Regions from separate parts of the Homo sapiens genome. Here all the other regions are linked to region 2. The links are contacts of gene promoters, found by promoter capture Hi-C in human tissues and cell types (Jung and others, 2019). All regions are on one chromosome and are shown on one strand. Each heading gives the region's core, a stretch centred on a gene start or on the middle of the fragment in contact. The rest is flanking DNA. Distances are from core to core; before and after follow the strand shown.

Region 1 (4,834 bases), core at 1,672-4,171, 38 kb before region 2:
CCACATGCCAGGCATGGCACGGTGGGTCAGGGGCAGAGGGAGTGAGGAGGAAATGTGGGTAAGAGCCTTTTTATTACAGTTTCTATGGGAAGAAAAGGACAAAGGAGGGGAAGCAGGCTTACGAGTGGCTAGCTTGAATGGTTTCAGCAGGCTTTTAATCCTCATGGGGAATGGAAATGTCCTGAATTATCTGGTACCGGGCCATAGGGTGATTAGGGCCTGTGATTGGGAAATGGGCTCTTCATTGGTTGGTTTGCATACAGAAAGCCTATTCTCGGGGGAGTTGTTTACTAACTCTACAAATTGGTTGGCCCTGGGAGGGGCAGTCCCTCCAGGGTTAGCAATGTCCAGAGATGTAAAAGCATCAGAAAATAAAAAACACGATTACAAGGTGGGTAGATTGTTTGAGGCCAGGAGTTCGAGACCAGCTTCAGCAACATAGCAAGACCCCTTCACTACAAAAAAAATTTTTAAAGGTAGACGGGTGTAGTAACAGGTCCTTGTAGTCCCAGCTACTCTGGAGGCTGAGGCAGGAGGATCACTTGAGTCCAGGAGTTCGAGGCTGCATAAGCTATAATCATACCACTGCACTTCAATCTGGGCAACAGAGTGAGAGTCTGTCTCTAAAAGAAAAAAAAAAGATCAATTACAAAGTTGTATTTCAGTCCAAAGTAAAATAAACCAAGAGAGAAGTTGTGGGATTCAAAATACAATGCTAAGCACAGGGATGAATAAAACATCACTAAATTTAATTAACAATAAAAAATAGTTAGCTGGGCACAGTGGCTCACACCTATAATACCAGCATTTTGGGAGGCCGAGGCAGAAAGATTGCTTGAGCCCAGGAGTTAAAGACAAGCCTGGGCAACATATCAAAACCCCATCTCTTCTTGCACTTTTTGTACAAAAAGCAGAAAAATTAGCAGGACGTGGGGGCTCGCATCTGTAGTCCCAGCTACTGGGGAGGCTAAAGTGGGAGGATCACTTGAGCTGAGGGAGGTTGAGGCTGCAGTGAGCTGAGGTCATGCCAGTGCATGATCCTGTCTGTCTCAAAAAAAAAAAAAAAAAGGAAAATAGCCATATTAAAATAATATAATTTCTGTGTTTAACAATATTGTTTTTAGATAAAAAGACTAAAATGGGAGTTATTCAACAAGTTCCTTTGTTAAAGAAGTTAGAAATACTAAATAACAAATTTTTAAATAAAATCATTCAAACAAAAGAATTATTAAGAATAAGAATGGATACTAAAATGAATATTAATATGTATTGCTTCCAAACCAGCAGATGATAATTCGGATTATAAGAAAATTAAGCCGGGCGTGGTGGCTCACATCTGTAATCCCAGCACTTTGGGAGGCTGAGGTAGGCGGATCACGAGGTCAGGAGTTCGAGACCAGCCTGGCCAACATGGAGAAACCTTGTCTCTACTAAAAACACAAAAATGAGTTGGACGTGGTGGCCTGTGCCTGCAGTCCCAGCTACTCGGGAGGCAGGGGCAGGCTTGAACCCAGGAGGCAGTGGTTACAGTGAGCAGAGATGGCGCCATTGCACTCCAGCCTGGGCGACAGAGCAAAACTCCATCTCAAAAAAAAAAAAGAAAAGAAAAAAGAAAACTAAAACTTTTATTCAACAAAAGATGGGATAAATAGAAAGATAACTTACAGTTTGGAAAATGATACCTGTACCACATGTAACTGTCAAGGCTCAGATTCTAGAATTTATAAACAACTGCTAAAACCCAAGATGAAAAAGTAACAAAGAGCTTCCACTGTATTTGTTATGCTTTATTGTTGTAAAAATATGGAAAGCATGTAGACCAAGACATCAGAATTTGATCAAGATGAGTGGTTGATGGATATACTGATGTCTGTTCTCATATCCTTTTCACTTTTCTGTATATTTTATTTTTTTGAGACAGAGTCTCACTTGACTCACTGCAACCTCCACCTCCTGGGTTCAAGCAATTCTCCTGCCTCAGCCTCCGGAATAGCTGGGACGACAGGTGTGCACCAACACGCCCGGCTAATTTTTGTGTTTTTCATAGAGATAGGGTTTCACCATGTTAGCCAGGCTGGTCTCAAACTCCTGACCTCAGGTGATCAACCTGCCTTCATCTCCCAAAGTGCTAGGATTACAGGCATGAGCCACCATGCCCAGCCTCCTTTTCTGTATATTTTAAATATTTCATAATATTATTTAAGAATTAGAAAGAACCATAAGCATTATAGCAGAATCAAATACATCCCCATTTGATTCCCATTTTTACCTTAATTACCATAGTAGACAGCAAGTGTGGTCACTGTCCCCCCACAACCATGGTCCCAGCGTTGAGACTAGCTGACAGAGATGGTGCAGACAGGGACCCTGGCGAACTCAGCTCTGCCAAGCAAAGATCTCCGACCCTCCACAGAGGAAGATTCCACATAAGTGGCAGGTGTGGTCCTCCAGCTGGCCTCACCCTGGGGAACCAGGGACAGGGACCCACTGGCTGCTGCATGGGGCTCACAGGGAAGGAAGAAAGACAATGCTGCCAACTGGAGCCCCCTTTCTGCTGGCTTCTCAGCACTGCTCACTCCCCAGCACCTCAAGACCTTTGGGCTAGAGATGTCAACACAAGGAAATCCAGTTCAGCAGTTAAGAGGAAGATCAGCAAACTGAAGTAGCATTCATGCCATGGGATGTTTCAGATCCACATTCTATACTGTTTCAGGGAATATAAGCTTCATAGACACAACATTTGTAGAAGTTGCTCCTTAAGCAACAACTTAACAGCAACTCCAATTTAAAACCAAAAAGCATGTCAATACAATCAGAGTGTTCAACTTAGCGCTGCCTAGCTTTCATATTGATCACAAAGCAGGTACTTTTTGGAGGGACCTCACAACATTTTGCTGAACGAAAAAAGCTCAATCTCAACCAGTAACACACTGTGTGATTCCATTTATATAACTTTTTTTTTTCCAAGACAAAGCCTTGCTCTGTCACCCAGGCTGGAGGGCAGTGTCACAATCATAGCTCACTACAGCCTCAAACTCCTGAGATCAAGGGATCCTTCTGTTTCAGCCTCCCTAGTAGCTGGGATTACAGGTGCATGCCACCACCACACCCAACATATATAATATTCTTGAAATGACAAAATTTTAGAGATGGAAAAGAGATTAAAGGTTGCTAGAGGTTAGGGACAGTGGCAGAGAGGCTGTAACTATACATAGGCAGTACGAGTGAGATCTTTGTGATGCTGGATAATAGTTACACAAGTCTACATATGTAATAAAATGGCATTGGCTGGGCATGGTGGCTCATGCCTATAATCTTTGGGAGCACTTTGGGAGGCTCAGTCAGGCAGATCACTTGAGGCCAGGAGTTCAAATCCAGCCTGACCAACATGGAGAAACCCTGTCTCTACAAAAAATACAAAAATGTGGCCCGGTGCAGTGGGTCATCTCTGTAATCCCAGCACTTTGGGAGGCCAAGATGGACAGATTGCTTGAGGTTAGGCGTTCAAGACCTGCCTAGCCAACATGGCGAAACCCCATATCTACTAATAGTACAAAAATCAGCCCGGCGTGGTGGCAGGTGTTTGTGGTCCCAGCTACTCAGGTGGCTGAGGCACGAGAATCACTGGAACCCAGGAGGCAGAGGTTGCAGTGAGCTGAGATAGTCCAACTGCACTCCGGGCTGGGCAACAGAGTGAAGCTGTGTCTCAAAAAAAAAAAAAAAAATTAGCCTGGCATGGTGCCGCACACCTGTAATCCCAGCTACTGGAGAGGCTGAGGCATGAGAATCGTTTTGAACCCGGGAGCAGAGGTTGCAGTGAGCCAAGATTATGCCACTGCACTCCAGCCTGGGTGACAGAGAGCGAGACTGTCTCAAAAAAAAAAAAAAGGTATAAAACTATACACATATTGTACCGTTGCACTGTAATTATATAAAATATACCCACTCGGGGAGACTGGCTAAAAGGTACTCTGTACTATGTTTGCAAGTTCTTGTGAATTTATAATTATTTTAAAATTAAAATTTAAGAAAAAAATCACTTACTTGTGTATAAAGTTAAATAAAATCTATAGATTAGGGATTGGCAAACTATGAACAATAGATCAAATCTGGCCCACCACCTATTTTTGTATGACCTGCAATCTGAGGATAATTTTTATATCTTTAAGTGGTTAAAAATTTTTTAAAAAGAATGTTTTGTGATACATGAAAATTATGTGAAGTTCAAATTTCAGAATCCATAGGAAAAGTTTTATTGGAACACATACATATCTATTCATTTACATATTATCTATACATTACTTCAGCAGAGTTGAGTTATTGCTTGCTATAGAATGAATGTTTGTGTCCCCTAAATATGTTGAAACCTAATTCCCAATGTGATGGTATTTGAAGGCAGGGTTTTTGGGAACTGATTAGGCCATGAAGGTGGAGTCTTAATAAACGAGATTAATGACCTTATAAAGGGACCTCAAAGAGCTCCCTCATCCCATCTGCCATGTGAGGACACAGTGAGAAGATAGCTATCTATGAACCATGAAGCAGGCACTAATAAGACATTGAATCTGCCAGCATCTTGATCTTGAACTTCCCAGCCTCCAGAACTGTGAGAAATAAATTTCTGTTGTTTATAAGCTACACAGACCACAGTCTTTGTTACAACAGCCTGAATAGAGTAAGACATTGCTACAGAAATCATATGGCCTACAAAGCCTAAATTACTTACAATCTAGCTATTTACAGAAAAATTTTGCCAATCCTTGCTATAGAACATTTAGGGACTTATTAATTCACTATTTTGAATAATGCTGAAATGAAAAATCTTTGTACTCAT
Region 2 (4,630 bases), core at 999-3,498:
CTCACATGAGCCAGAGGAAAGGGGTGATGTCACCTCAATGGAGGGAGGACAGGCTCCTGGGGCAACCAGCAGCAAGCCTGAACAGAGAAAATTTTCAAAACAAAAAAGATTCCACTGCAGGGAGGAGGGAGGTGAGCTTGGGAGCCTCTGAGTGCCCCCAAGTTTCCCTCCCCAATGCTCAGCCCCTGAGGCTTCGGGTCATGTGGCCCAGCCCACGAGCCAGTGATGCCAAGCCCTAGAGCGCGGGGCACTTGGGGCCGGCTCCTCTGGGAGCAGCACCTCTCCAAGTGCCAGGCATGAGCTCTGGGGTCAGGCAGCCAGGGTCCCAACTCCTGTTCCACCTCTGACTATCCTAGAGGCCTGGGCAAAGAGAAGGTCGTGCCAGCCCAGCTGGCCACTAGGCCCAGGAGCTCCTGAAGCATCAGGGAGAATCTTCTAGAGCATCAAAAAGAATCCACAACCCAGGACGCTTTATCATCCCCAGTCTATGGCAAAGGAAACTAGATATCAAGACCATCGTCATGGGAATAAACATAATAGGCACCGTCAGGAGCACTGATTCTAGGACAGATACTGTGCTCATTTAATCCTCCCAACATCCCATGGGGTGGGCACTCATATCAGTTCCACTTTATAAACAGAGAAACTGAGGTGCAAGAGGCTAAGCTGGCTAATCTGGTGAGTGACAGGGCTGTGTGGGGTTCCAGCGACTGTGCCCTGATCACTGCAGTCAATATGTAAGCCAGATTTCTCTTAGCGATGCAGTTCCCATCAGCTGAGCCAGAGCTGCTCCCTCTGCCAGCGCCACTCCCACCCCCACAGGGGAATGGGGCAGTTTGGGCCAGATAGGGACAAAGTCTGGCTGTGTCCAGAATGGCCCGGTGCAGGAACACTGTTTTATAAACACTAAACAGTCTGGGTTGGCCACTGGGCACTGTTGTGACCTTGACCCAGCCTGGCAGGAGGGCAGCCTGCCACCCACCCCCACCTGCATCCCAGCAGGGCATGAGGGCTCAGTATCTAGAGCCAGAGCCCAAGCCAGCCCTACTAGTTCCTGCCCATACAGTCAAGGACAGCAACAAGGAGTGAGAGTCAGGTGCCCTGTGCAACCCCCTGCCCAGTCCAGACTCCAGCAGAGTTGCCCTGGGTATCTCTTGGGGGTCTCTTCTCTGAGGACAAGGTCACATAGCATCCCCAACCCAACCTCAGAACCTCAACCCAACCCCAGAAAACTGCCGACACCATGGCCACTAAGACTCCCACACACACAACCCTGTCTGGGGTGCCCTAGTGAGGACTACTCCCTAATGCACCCATTGCAGAGATCAGTAAACAGAGGCCGGGAAGGGTTCTCCCCAGAGGGCCCTCCAAGCTGGGCAGCAGCAGAGCCTGGATTCTCTCAGCAGCAGGTCTACTCTGACCCCACTTTCTGAGAAGCAGATGAGCTTTTGCTCAGCAACAAACCGCAATTCTATTTAGTTGGGGCCTGTTCCAAGACACTGGGGAGGGGCTGCTAGGGCCTGCTTGAGCCAGGTGGCCGAGGGGCGTCAAAGGGTCTCTCCGGTTCGGCGAATGCGTACTGCAGCCTGCTGTGGCCTCGGGATTACCCCGTCCCCCTCCCACATCTCCCGGGGGGCGGAAGAAGCGCATCCCATGCAAGCAGCGACCTCAGGCCATGCCGCCCTCTCTCAGGCCTCAGTTTTCTCATCTGTAATCGGAGACCGCGGTTAAAACCGTCTATTAGGCTCCTTGGTAGTCCGAAGCTGCCTATGGGTCCCGCCAGGTGCACAGCGCTGACCCTCCCCATCCCCCGCACAGCCCTCGCAGCTCCGGGCCCTCCCCTGGCCACGGAAGGCGCGGGGCAGTCTGAAGTCCTCGGGCTGGAGAAACCCACCGCGAGCACCCGCTCCTCTGCGCAGGACCCTGGACTAGCCGGGTGGTACGCGCGCGATGGGCTGGGGGTCCCGGGGGAGGCCACGGCCAGCCAAGGTCAGAGCCAAGGTCACAGTCTGTTCCTCCTCCCCCTCCCCCCGGCGGGGCCAGACTCAGGGCTGCGGGCAGCGGCGCCCCAGGACCCAGGAGAGAGGAGCTGTGGGGCCGGTCCCCAGGACGGCAGGAGAAGCAGCGGCGCAGGGACCGGGAGGGGGCGGGCCGCCGCGCTCACCGGGCGGGCGGGCCGGGTCCGCGCTGCAGCGAGGTCCGGAGGCTGCAGGTCAGGGGGCTGCGCGGAAGGGGTGCGCGCGCGCCGTGCCAATTACCTGGGTCACGTGACGCAGCCGCCCACGGGCGCGCGCCCCTGAGACTCCGCGCGTCGTGACGTCTCCATGGATGCCCCGCCCCGCTCCTGGCGCTGTCCACGGTGCTGGCGGCCCAGGCCCGAGGTCGCCCACGGCCGAAGGGGGGACTCCTCTCTGAGACCGCAGAACGGGGCTGAGGCCCTGAACCCCGTGTGCTCGTCCTAAAACTAGGACGAATGTACCAGACGACAAGCAGCCTTTGTGTGTAGGAGAGGATAGGTTTTGTTTTGTCGTCTGTAAAATGGGAATGCTATGAAAAGTTCCACTATCTTAGGGATGTTTTGAAAAAAAGATGAGATAATGCGTGAAAAGTGCTTACCCCAAATCTGATACACATTTTACCCATTCATCCTCCCACTGATGGTGACCCAGGCTGTCCTCACCACCCCGTGGCCACAAACAAGGCTGCAATGAACTTCTTCATACACATTCCCTTAGGATCCTGCGTGGAACTTTCTCTGGGATAGAGATCAACTTTCTAATTATTATCAGAATAGCAGATGCAATGTCCTGTTATTGTTTTAATCTGCATTTCTCTGGTTATCAACCATTTGCATCTCCCGTTGTTTGTTAGTTTGGGGTTTTCTGTTGTATTTTTTTCAGCTTTCTGTTGGGTTTTGTTCTCATTTAAATGCAGGGATTTCTTGTATAGGAACATAACATACCTGTGGTTCAAGTTGCCATCAAATCTCTCCTGGATTATCGCAGCAGCCTCCTAACTGGCTTCTCTGCTTCTACACTTACACTCTTGAATTTTAATCTCAAAACTACAGTATGCACTTCACAAGAATATATTCAAGTACATATCAAACCAATTAATATGGTTGCTTGTCGAGGGAGGAGGATGGGGAATGTGGATATGAGGTAATTAATCAATTACCCAGATCACTGCTGACAGAGTGCCACGAAGAAAGGAATACAACTAACTTCTGCACCTGAAGTCTCCCAAAAGTTCTTTATTTGGAGACAGTTAGGGATACATGTGGTCAAGAATCTTCAGCACTTAACACAGCACTATCATGGTATTTTTCAGTAAATATTTGTTGAATGAATGACTGAGTGAGTAAATGGACACTTGACTTGGATCCTGAAGGATGAGTAAGATTTTATCTGGTGCAGAAGGGCAGGGTTCATTGGGAATTCTTTGGACACAAGCACCAAAAATGACCTGGCTAGCTTCAGCCGAAAACGAGTTGATATGAAGGTTGTATATAAGGCAACTCACAGAATCAGAGGAAAGCTGAAAATTTACTTCAGGAAGCAGGGCTGAGCCATAGAGGAACTGTCTCTTCAAGGCTCTTCTGTTTTTCAAAATTCAAATTCCGGGTGAGAGGCAGTAATGTACTTGCAGTAGAGACGGAGTAAGGTGGCCAGATTTGAGAGACTTACGGGGATCAGCTCCACGGGGTTTAGTGGTTGACCAGATATGAGGGTGGAGACATAGATAACTCACAGGTGTCTGGCTTTAGTGACTTGGGCACAGTGGAACTTCTCAGTGAGCTAGGGAAAAGGAGAAGCTGCAGTTTGGGGTAATAGTGGAAAAGTTTACAAGTCAGAGTCACCGATTAAGAAAGATGGAAAGCCTGACACAGAGCAGCAGGCAGGAACAAGGCTCTTGCAAATCAAAAGGCTTCAGAGCCTTTCAGCCTTCCAGCCTAATTGGTGTTCTGCTAATTGCATTGATTAAAGCAAACATTTGGGGCAATCAACGCTCCCATGAGGGTGGCTGCCATTCTCAGAAGCCTGAGAGGATTAGTGGCAGTGGCTGTAGGCTTTGCAGAGATCTTCAGAAACAGACACCTTTCTTTTTTTCCCATGCCTGTGGCGTGTGTGTGTGTGTGTGTGTGTGTGTGTGTGTGTGTGTGTCAGAACATGGAAGTTTTTATTTATTCTAGTTGTACAGAACTTAAATGATACAGAAGGATACAGAACAAAATGTGAAAAGCCCCCTTCCACCTGCCCCAACCTCACCTCTTTTTTTTCCTTCCAGAGATAACTACTGGCCAGTTTGGCAAACATTTTTACAAAATTGTTTATGTATTTATATCCATATGCTTCTACAAACATATACATAAAAATATGAAATGGATCACACTAGAATATAGTTCCACGACTTGTTTCTTTTTTTCCCTTGTCTTGAAGATTTTTATTTAAACTCAGTATGTGTAGGACCACCTCATTCTTTTTCATGGGTATGTTGTATTCATTATAGGGATGTATGGTGACTGTATGTCACTTCTCTCCCATTGAATGAACATTTCCATTTCTTTTGACATTTACAGAAAAAAAAGGAGAAAAGAGTCCTCCTATATATTCCCTTTAGTACATGCAAA
Region 3 (4,899 bases), core at 407-2,906, 50 kb after region 2:
TGTGCTGCATTGGTACTTTTTTTTTTTTTTTTTTTTTACAATCAATGAACCTACATTTACACGTCATCACCTGAAGTTCATAGTTTACATTAGAGTTCACTTTTGGTGTTGTATATTCTATGGGTTTTTATAAATATAATGACATGTATCCCCACCATTGTAGTATCATACAGGACAGCTTCATTGCCCTAAAAATCTTCTGTGCTCCACCTATTCATCTCTCCCTCCCCACAAGCACTGGCAACCACTGATATTTTACTATCTTCATAATTTTGTCTCTTCCACTCTGTCATATAGTTGAACTATACAGTATGTAACCTTTTCAGATTGGCTTCTATCACTATTTAAATTTCCTTTGTGTCTTTTCATGGCTTGATAGCTCGCTTCTTTTTAGTACTGAATAATGTTCCATTGTTTGGATGTACCATAGTTTTTTGTTTGTTTGTTTTTGAGATGGAGTTTTGCTCTTGTTGCCCAGGCTGGAGTGCAGTGGCGCGATCTCAGCACACCACAACCTCCGCCTCCTGGGCTCAAGTGATTCTCCTGCCTCAGCCTCCTGAGTAGCTGGGATTATAGGAATGCGCCACCACGCCCAGCTAATTTTGTATTTTTAGTAGAGATGGGGTTTCTCCATGTTGGTCAGGCTGGTCTTGAACTCCTGACCTCAGGTGATCTGCCCACCTTGGCCTTCCAAAGTACTGGGATTATAGGCATGAGCCACTGTGCCCAGCCAGGATATACCATAGTTTCTTTATCCATTCATCTACTGAAGAACATGTTGGTTGCTTCCAAATTTTGGAAATGATTAACAAAGCTGCTATAAACATCTATGTATAGGTTTTTGTGTGAAGTTTTCAATTCATTTGGATAAATACTAAAGAGTATGAGTGCTGCATCATATGGTAAGATTATGTTTAGTTTTGTAAGAAAGTGTCAAACTGTTTTCCAAAATGGCTATAAAATTTTGCATTTTTACCAGCAATAAATGAGAGTTCTTGTTACTCCACATGCTTGCCAGCATTTAGTGTTGTCAGTGCTTTTGATTTCGGCCATTCTAATAGGTATGTAGTGGCATCTTGTTGTTTTAATTTGCAGTTTCCTAATAACACATTATTGTTGAATATCTTTTCATATGTTTACTTGTGATTTGTGTATCATTTTTGGTGAGATGTCTGTTCGGTATTTTGTTCTTTTTTTTTTTTTTTTTTTTTTTTTTTTGGAGATGGAGTCTCGCTCTGTCGCCTAAGCTGGAGTGCAGTGGTGCGATCATGGCTCACTGCAAGCTCCGCCTCCTGGGTTCACGCCATTCTCCTGCCTCAGCCTCCCAAGTAGCTGGGACTACAGGTGCCTGCCACCATGCCTGGCTAATTTTTTGTATTTTTAGTAGAGACGGGGTTTCACCATGTTAGCCAGGATGGTCTCAATCTCCTGACCTCATGATCCGCCCACCTCAGCCTCCCAAAGTGCTGGGATTACAGGCGTGAGCCACCGTGCCCGGCCGTTTTGTTCATTTTTAATTAGGTGTTCTTTCTCTTATTGTTAAGCTTTGAGTCCTTTCTGTATATTTTGGAGAACAGTTCATTATTAGATCTATCTTTTGCAAATATTTCCTCCCAGCCTATGACTTGTCTTTTCATTCCCTTAACTGTGTCTTTTGGAGAGAAGTTTTGAATTTTAATGAAGTCCAGTTTATCAATTATTTCCTTTATGTAGTGTGCCTTTGGTGTTGCATCTAAAAAGTCAACCGGGTTTTCTCCTATGTTGTCTTCTAGGGATTTTACAGTTTTGCATTGTACATCTAGGTCTATGATCAATTTTCAGTGAATTTTTGTGATGAGTGTAAGGTCTATATCTACATTTATTTTTTAACATGAGATATCCAGTTGTTCCAGCATCATTTGTTGAAAACACTGTCTTTGCTTCATTGTATGGCATTTCCTCCTTTGTCAAAAAATGAGTTGACTGTATTCATGTGGGTCTATTTCTGGGCCTCTATTCTATTCCATTGGTCTATTTATTTTTGCCAGTATGAATTACTGTAGCTTTATTTATCATCATTTTAGACCCAGTTGTTTAGTAAGTTTTGACGTCATGCCAAAGTCTTCCAACTTTGTTCTCCTTCAATACTGAGTTGGCTATTCTGGGTCTTTTGTCTCTCCATATAAAGTTTAGACTTAGTTCATCAATATCCATGAAATAATTTGCTGAGATTTTAATTGGGAATGTGTTGAATCTATAGATTAAGTAGGAAAAAACTGACATCTTGACAATATTGAGTCTTCTTGTCCATGAACATGGTTTAGTTCTTTGATATCTTTCATTGAAGTTAAGTAGTTTTCTTCATATACATCTTATACATATTTTGTTAGATTTACACCTAAGTATTTTATTTTGGCAGGGGGTAATGTAAATGGTAATGTGCTTTGAATTTCAAATTCCACTTAATTGCTGGTGTATAGAAAAGCAATAGACTTTTGTACATTATATTATATCCTGGGCAGGCGTGGTGGCTCACACTTGTAATCCCCGCACTTTGGGAGGCCAAGGCAGGTGGATCACTTGAGTCCAGGAGTCGACACCATCCTGGCCAACACGGCAAAACCCTGTCTCTACTAAGAACACAAAAAATTAACCGGGTGTGGTGGTGCATGCCTGTAGTCCCAGCTACCTGGCAGGCTGAGGTGGGAAGATCCCTTGAGCCCCTAAGGTGGAAGTTGCAATGAACTGAGATTGTGCCACTGCACTCCAGCCTGGGTGACAGAGTGGAACTCCATCTCAAACAAAACAAAACAAACCCAAAAACCATTGTATTCTGCAACCCTGCTGCAATTGTTTATCAGTTTCTTATTTGTCAATTCTACATGTCATCTGTGAACAAAGTATTTCCCTTTATTGTTGTATTGCACTAGCTAGGATTTCCAGTATGATGTTAAAAAACAGTGGTGATATGGGATATCCTTGCCTCATTCCTGATCTTAGCAGGAAAGCTTCACGTTTCTCACCGTTAAGTATGATGTTACCTGTAGGCTTTTTCTAAATGTTCGTGATAAAGTTTAGGAAGTTTTCTTTCTTTTTTCCCCCCAAAGATATCTTCCTAACATTCAAAGTTTTCTTTCTATTCCTAGTTTGCCAAAGGGTTTTTTTTTTTAAATCATGAATGTGTGTTGCATTTTGTCAAATGCTTTTTCTACATCTATTAATATGATCACATTATTTTTCTTCTTTAACCTGTTGATGTAATGGATTACATTAATTGACTTTTGAATGTTGAACCAGCCTTACATACCTAGTATAAATCCCACTTGGTTGCGTGTATAATTATCTTAATACACTTCTGGATTCAATTTGTTAATATTCTGTATGGGATTTTTACATCTATGCTCATAGGAAATATTAGCCTGTAGTTTCCTTTTCCTGTAATGTCTTTGTCTGGTTTCAGTATTAGGGTAATGCTGACCTCAGAGATTAAGAAGGATTCTCTCTGCTTCTATCTTCTGAATAACATAGAAAATTGGTATAAATTCTTTCTTAAATGTTTGGTAGGATTCACCAGAAATCTGGGTCAAATGCTGTTTCAAGGTCATTAATTATTGATTCATTATCTTTAAAAATCATAGGTCTAGTCATAGTGTAGCCATAAAATAGATTCTCTATTTCTTCTTATGTGATTTAAAGCAGATGTGTTTTTCAAGGAATTGGTCCATTTCTTCTAGCTTATTAAATTTGTGAACACAGTTGTTCATAATATTCCTTTATTATACTTTTAATGTCATGGGATATGTAGTCATGCCCTCTCTTTCATTTACTATTATTATTTTTTTTGAGAAGAATTCTCACTCTGTCACCAGGCTGAGGTGCAGTGGTGCAGTCTTGGCTCTCTGCAACCCCCACCTCCCGGAAGTGATTCTCCTGCCTCAGCCTTCCAAGTAGCTGGGACTATAGGCACGTGCCACTATGCCCAGCTAATTTTTATATTTTTAGTAGAGACTTGGTTTCACCACGTTGGCCACGATGGTCTCAATCTCCTGACCTCATGATTCGCCCACCTCGGCCTCCCAAAGTGCTGGGATTACAGGCATGAGCCACTGAGACTGGCCATTTTTTATATTAATAATTATATATCTTTACTTTTTTTTTTTAGTCTGGTTACAGACTTACTGATTTTATTGATCTTCTCAAAGAATAAGCTTTTGGTTTTTCTGACATTTTTTTTTCCCGGTTGTTCTCTTTTTTTCTTCCTGTGGGTTAATTGAACTTTTTTTTTTTTTTAATTCCATTTTGGCTTATCTGTAGGGTTTTTGAGTATATCTCTTTTCATAGCCTTTCTAGTGGTTGCTCTAGCTACTACATTGTATTATGTATAGCTTTTCATAGTCTACTGGCATCAACATTTTAATTGTTTGTGTGAGCCGAAACCTTACCTCTATGCCCCTTTTCTTTCCCACATTTATAACAATTATTTTCTCTGCATACAGTGAAAACCCCAATAGACATAATTATATTTTGCTTCAAAAAATGTAATTTCGAAACCCACAGAGGTGTATTGTATTTACCCATACTTTTACTGTTTCTACTCTTCCTCCCTGATCTTCCAAGATTCCTTCATTGATGGTTTCCTTTCTGTTTCAAGAACTTCTTTAGCATTTCAGCCAGAACCACAATTTTCTAATAATTCACCAAAATGACAAACACAAAAAGGAGGAGAGGCACCTGATATATGTTCTCTGGACCTTTTATAACATGCAGTTGTTCCTTTGGCCACATACACACGAATCTAACAAGAAAAGTCATACCATAGACATCAGTATGGGAACTGTTTGAAAAGGAATACCCACAAATGTTCCCATGGCAAAACTGGGAGTCCACAATGTTACCCACCATGCTATTGGCATTGTTGTA

What was found. The method cuts DNA at HindIII sites, captures the fragments that hold promoters and counts their contacts. A contact is called where the count stands out against the background at its distance.
Region 1: a contact is called between a fragment that was not itself captured here and the fragment with the promoter of OGDHL in region 2, in 2 of the 25 tissues and cell types used here (spleen and stomach).
Region 3: a fragment that was not itself captured here is called in contact with the fragment with the promoter of OGDHL in region 2 in 3 of the 25 tissues and cell types used here (H1 embryonic stem cells, liver and stomach).

The regions. Positions count from the first base shown.
Region 1 is chr10:49,721,438-49,726,271 of GRCh38, forward strand. No RefSeq gene overlaps it. Among named protein-coding and RNA genes, the nearest start is that of OGDHL, 38 kb to the right of the region's middle. The HindIII fragment of the contact is 5,697 bases long and covers 74-4,834 here.
Region 2 is chr10:49,760,075-49,764,704 of GRCh38, forward strand. OGDHL (oxoglutarate dehydrogenase L) reads right to left here and starts at 2,249. Exons shown (of 23, transcript NM_018245.3): 1 at 2,165-2,249. RefSeq lists a silencer at 2,000-2,209. The HindIII fragment of the contact is 26,824 bases long and covers 1-4,630 here.
Region 3 is chr10:49,810,415-49,815,313 of GRCh38, forward strand. It overlaps the pseudogene RPL21P89. Among named protein-coding and RNA genes, the nearest start is that of OGDHL, 51 kb to the left of the region's middle. The HindIII fragment of the contact is 3,861 bases long and covers 1-3,587 here.